2 separate regions of the Homo sapiens genome follow, and region 2 is linked to region 1. Evidence: promoter capture Hi-C in 16 types of primary human blood cells and fetal thymus (Javierre and others, 2016). All regions are on one chromosome and are shown on one strand. Each heading gives the region's core, a stretch centred on a gene start or on the middle of the fragment in contact. The rest is flanking DNA. Distances are from core to core; before and after follow the strand shown. Region 1 holds the start of ATG16L2 (autophagy related 16 like 2). Region 2 overlaps ARHGEF17 (Rho guanine nucleotide exchange factor 17).

Region 1 (2,655 bases), core at 96-2,595:
CCTGTCACCTTGACTGAGGCCCTGGGCCTGGCCTAGTTCTCATGAAAACCCCACCTCAGCCCCCAGGGTACTGCAGCACCCAGCAAACCTAAAGAAGGTCTCTATACCCAATTAACAAGTAAGAAGACTGAGGCTTAGCGATGTGATCTGCCCAAGGTTTCAAGACTGGCCCTTCAGTCTGATTTCAGCCCTCCAGATCTCTCTAGTCCCTCAGACTCACAGCTCCCTGGGTCGGGGCGGGGGGCAGGGGTTGGGGGGGCGGTGACCCCCTCCCTCAAACTGGACGGTTCCACTGTCTGTCTGAGCAGTGGAGAAGTGTGGCTGCTGGAGGTGGGGGCTGGCCTCGCAACCCTGAAGGTAGAGGACCAGCAGCCTGGAAGCTTGCAGAGAAATTTTCCTGGCTAAGAGCAGATTTGATTGTGGGGGTTTGGCCAAGATTAGCCCCAGTGAGAGAGCCGCAGGGATTGTGGTTAGACTTCCAACCACAGACATACAATCGCAGGCGGCCAGAGGTGCGACACACAGGCACACCTGTTCATCCCCTCTTGAAATGCCACACCCTATCCTGACCAGCTGCCCAGAAACAATTCTGAGAGTCCGACTTCGCTGGGCTCAGCCAGCATCCACCAGCAGCCCGGGGCCCCCTGATGCCCCCTCAGGCTGGGTAGGCTGACAGGGAGGTGTTCCATAAGCCTGTGCCAGCGTCGCCTGTCAGCGGCAGAGCCTGAGATGCACAGCCTCCTCCTTAGAGGTTCCGAGTGTCGCCCCTCTCCGGATGGGCCAATAAGTGGCTGCTCTGGACAAGTCCCGCGTTCTTTCACTGCGCTACCGAGACTAAGTGCACTGATCAAGCCCCTACCCCGGGGACTGCCCGGGTGGGGAGGCAAAAGAGACCCTGCAAAACCAACACCCGAGGACGCACTTGCGTCTCGGAAGCCCAGCTTGTGGGAGGCAGAGCCCGTCCTGAGGGGCGACGAGGGCAGGGGGACCAGGAGGGGCTCGTCCAGGTTCTAACCAGAGCCTGGATGGCAAGGGGCGGAGTCCTGGCAGTCGGGATGGGCGTAACGCACAGGCTCAAGGCATAAGGCACAGCGCACTCGGGTCACAGGCGGAGGAGCCAGCCAAACCCTCTCCCCGCGCCCGTAGCCGCGTCCCCTCAGCCGCCATCCTCTCAGCACCGGGGCGCACTCACAGGCCGGCACCAGCTCCAGGAAAAGCGCCTTTTGCGTACGGTCCCGAAGCCGCAGCTGCCGCACGATGTGGCGTTTCCAGCGCGCTGCGGGGGCACCGGGGACGCCCGGCCCCGCCATGGCCGCGCTCTCCCGCCTAGCGGCGCGTTCCTCCCGCCCAGGACGGCGCCAGGCCGGGGCGGGGCCTCGCGGGGACTCCGTGACGCCAGGGGGCGGGCGGCGGCGGGGAATCCCCGGCTTGTCCCAAGAGGGCTTTGGCGGGGAGGACCGAAGGCCGACGCCGGGAGGATCTGCCTCCGGGAGGAGCCGCCTCCGGGTCTGAACCGCCGGGGCCCCGTCCGAAATGTTCACCTAAGTGGGGGCTCCTGTGGCTGCGAGGGTCATAAGCAGGAGCGAGGTCGGAGCCTCCGGGGAGGCTTCCCCCACGCGGGTGGAGCGCTCCGGAGGCGGGGCCCTCAAGGCCCGGGTGTCTTAACCCCGCCGCGCCCGGGCCGAGTTCGAGAGCCGCTGGTGCTTCCCAGGCCGTCGCGCTCCTGGCCGCGCACCCAGCCAGGGACCCAGAGGCCCTCAGCCCCGGGCTCTGCGCGTACACTGAGGGCGCGGCGCAGCAGGACAGCAAGATAAGGAAGCAGAGACTGAAGGGAGGAATCCCCGCTTTCCGGGGATGATGGCGTTCGAGTTGGGTCTGTGAGGGATGAAATAGGAGTTGGCCAGAGGGAGAGAGGGACTCTAGGCCTCGAGAAGAGCACGTGCAGAGGTTCCGTGACACGAAAACGCCAGGTGGGTGCGGGGCTGGGAGGACAGGAGGCAGAAGGGTTTACGGCTCCACATGGTCGCCGAAATTTTAGGTCCCTGAGAGTAAAGGGGTGCAGCTGATTTCATCTAGAAAGCCCCTGGCCGGGAGGAGAGAACGAGCTTGCTTGCCTGGGGTTGCAAAGGAGTGGGTAGCTGAGACGGCCAGCACCCCAGCATCCTGACTCAGGGCCAGACGCTTCACCCCATTGGGCGGCGTCTGGAGGAGCAGACACATCTCTTGTGGGTACCCTCGAAAGTGAATCATGGGTCGCAGGGAACTGTGGTCAAACCGTCTCTAGCTAGATGCTAGAGAGCCAGCTCTGCAGGCTCAGGCTACTGTGAGACACGAAAGGAGGGACTCGCTGGGCACAGCCTCACCCTGGGGCATGCCAGCAGGCCCTGCCCTCTGAGTGTTGGCAGACTTGAACATCCCTAGGGAACGAGAGAAGTTGGGCAACGATGGGAGAGCAGTGCAGGCCCTGGAGGTGACGAGTCTGTTGAGATTCTGATGGGGATGGGTCAGAGGACGTAGAAAGCAGTGAAGGCCTAGACGCCCCCAGGTCAGTGTAGCCTGCTCTGCTTCCAGTGAGCTGGGCTCAGTCCCCCACATGTCATTGTCTTAGACGCCCATGGCCTTTGCACAGGCCGAGCCTGATGTTTGGAACATCGT
Region 2 (2,655 bases), core at 102-2,601, 520 kb before region 1:
GTGGTCCCAGCTACTCAGGAGGCTGAAGTAGGAGGATCACTTGAGCTCTGGGATGTCAAGGCTACAATGAGCTGTTTTCCTCATAATCATCTTCAGGTAGACTGTATGTTTTGAAGATAGCTATCATCTCACATGCTTTTTTTTTTTTTTTTTTCTTGAGACAGGGTCTCACTCTGTCACCCAGGCTGGAGTGTAGTGGCGTGACAGCTCACTGCAACCTCAAACTCCTGGGCTCAAGCGATCCTCCTGTCTCAGCATCCTGAGTGGTGGGGGTACAGGTGCGCACCACCACGCCCAGCTAATTTAAAAATATTTTTTAGAGATTAAGCCTAGTCTTGAACTCCTGGGATCAAGCAATCTTCCTGCCTCGGCCTCCCAAAGTGCTGGGATTATAGGCGCGAGCCACTGCGCCTGGCCCACATGTTCTTCTTACAATGTGGTATTGACTCTTCCCACAGAAAGACGAGGTCCAGGTCCCCTCCCTTTGAAGCTGGGTAAAGCTTTGTGACTGCCTTGACCACAGAGCACAGCAGAAATGATACTATGTGACATCCAAAGCTAGGTCATAAAAATGCCATGTGCTTCCATCTTGCTCTCTTGGCTTGCTCATTCTTGAAACCCAGCCTCCACGTTGTGGGGAAGCCCAGGCCACATGCAGGGGCCATGTGTAGGTATGCCAGCTGACAGGCCAGATGAGGTCCAGCCAAATGCCAGCATTAATCACCAATTTGTGAGTGAGGATGCCTTCAAGGTAATTCCAGCCCAGCACTATCCGACCACACTGCATGACTCTCAGTGAGAAGTGCCTAGCTGAGGAAACTGAGGATCAGGGAGGTGGAGGAGCCATGGTCACACAGGCAGTGAGTGGAAGAGACGGAATGTGAACCCAGGGTCCTTCATATGCTGACAGGAGAAATGAAGGAAGGGGATGATTTCTGCACAGGCTAGATTTCATCTATTGCCCCAGAGGGGTCCAGCTGGGACTCCAACCTCACCACTCCTTCCAGAAACTGTCCCTGCTGGCTGAAAGGAGGATGGAGGTGGTAGCCCTCATTCCTTATGCTGGGACTCAGGCCCGACTTCTAACTGCTGAACCTTGCTGGTGCACTCTTAGCCCAGAAGGGACCCCCGTACCCACTGCGCTCCCAGCCCCCTCCTAGACCTCTGGGAATGAGGTGTGCTCACTGTATCCTTGGTGGGAGCTCATGTATACAGCTGGCTAATGTTTAGTGAGGCACTGTTTCTCATGTATTATCTCATTTAGTCCTCACACCAGTCCTCTGAGTTATGTATTCCTGTTATGGCCATTTTACAGATGAGGAAACAAAGGCTCCAGGAAGCAAAGCAACTTGCCTGAGGTTATGAAGTCAGGATGTGGCAAAGCTGGGATTTGACCCCAAGTAACTGGCATATCAGAGAAGCTGAGTGACCTCACCAGGGTCACAGAGCACATTAACAAGAAGTCAAGCCAAGCCCAGAGCACCTTGAATGAGAAGGTAGGAGGCTGTATTCTCTTCCATGGATGGCTGGGAGTTAGATGGAAATAGGACGGTCTCAATGTCTGCTCCCTGCTTTCCACAACCAGAAGATCCATAAGAGCAGAGACCAGGTCTCTTGACATACAGTAGGTGTACAATACTTATCTATTGACTGTCTTGCTTTGCAACTTTAGCCAAATTCCTCTCCACTCTGGGATTCAGTTTCCCCCTCTGTAAACAAATGGGGGAGAAGGGAAGGTGTAGATGGATTCTAAATTCCCCACCAGGCTTCCTGGCAGCAGAGGTGGTGGGGGTGAGGTCATGCTCAGAGGTGGAGGATGGACAGCTTGACCTTCCTTCCTGATTTCAGGCTTCAGGATTAAGCCTATGGCTCCAGTGAGGAAGCTGAAGCCCCAAGAACTGCACTTCCACCAGACGCCCACAGGTGGCAGCAGAGGCCCACATGGCAGGGGCTGTGGTGCATGTGGTTTGAATTTAACTGGTGGGTTTTTTTTTTAATGTGGGTTTTTTCCCTTTCTTTCTTCTCTGAGATCCGCCCCCCTCCCTCCCAATTTCAAGAAGATACAGCTGGACCTTCCAGGCTGGGAAGGAAAAGTTTCTCATTATGGATAATAGCGGGAAGCAGGAGGTGGGGCTTGAGAAGTAGATGGATAGACAGACCCCCAACAGATGTGAAAAACATCTTAGGAGCTCAGAAGCTTTGAATGCAATCATCCTCTCAGCCCAAGAGGCTGGGACTGTCACCCCCATTTTACAGGCAGAGAAACCAGAACCCAGATCTTCTGGGTCCCACATCTGAGTCTGAGCAGGGGAGGTTGCCCTGCCCTTGGCAGTCGAGAAGGACCCCACTGGTAATCCCATGAGGCCTTAGGGTAGGTAGGACTTGCTAAATCTGGCAACTCCTGCTTTAGGGCTCCCAGGAAATGCACCCACCTTCCCCTATGCACACTTCTGCCTACATACTGGCCTGGCCTGTGGTCCCAGCCCTGGCTTAAAACCTATGAATGAGATGACCTCCAGGGGCCCTCCTCTCCCAGCTCTAAAAGTTATTTCATTCAAAATGTCTAACACTGGCTCAGCACCAGACCAGTGCTCAGGGAATCAGGCCCTGTGGCCCAGGACCACCACCGTTCAGCCTCTGATTCCTGACCTGCAC

The links. Contacts are between HindIII fragments. The CHiCAGO score rates a contact against its expected background, and 5 or more counts as called.
Region 2: a contact is called between a fragment that was not itself captured here and the fragment with the promoter of ATG16L2 in region 1, in 1 of 17 cell types (endothelial precursors). The highest score is 6.4, in endothelial precursors.

Annotation. Positions count from the first base shown.
Region 1 is chr11:72,813,101-72,815,755 of GRCh38, reverse strand. ATG16L2 (autophagy related 16 like 2) reads right to left here and starts at 1,345. Exons shown (of 18, transcript NM_033388.2): 1 at 1,193-1,345. The coding sequence starts at 1,310. It overlaps LOC107984421 (a long non-coding RNA gene), which reads left to right and starts at 1,689. Exons shown (of 3, transcript XR_007062771.1): 1 at 1,689-2,655. RefSeq lists an enhancer at 573-722 and silencers at 1,253-1,702, 2,103-2,192. The HindIII fragment of the contact is 2,352 bases long and covers 383-2,655 here.
Region 2 is chr11:73,334,906-73,337,560 of GRCh38, reverse strand. All of the region lies in intron 1 of ARHGEF17 (Rho guanine nucleotide exchange factor 17), which reads right to left. It overlaps LOC124902710 (a long non-coding RNA gene), which reads right to left. Exons shown (of 2, transcript XR_007062774.1): 2 at 1-2,655. Among named protein-coding and RNA genes, the nearest start is that of ARHGEF17-AS1, 27 kb to the right of the region's middle. The HindIII fragment of the contact is 1,697 bases long and covers 503-2,199 here.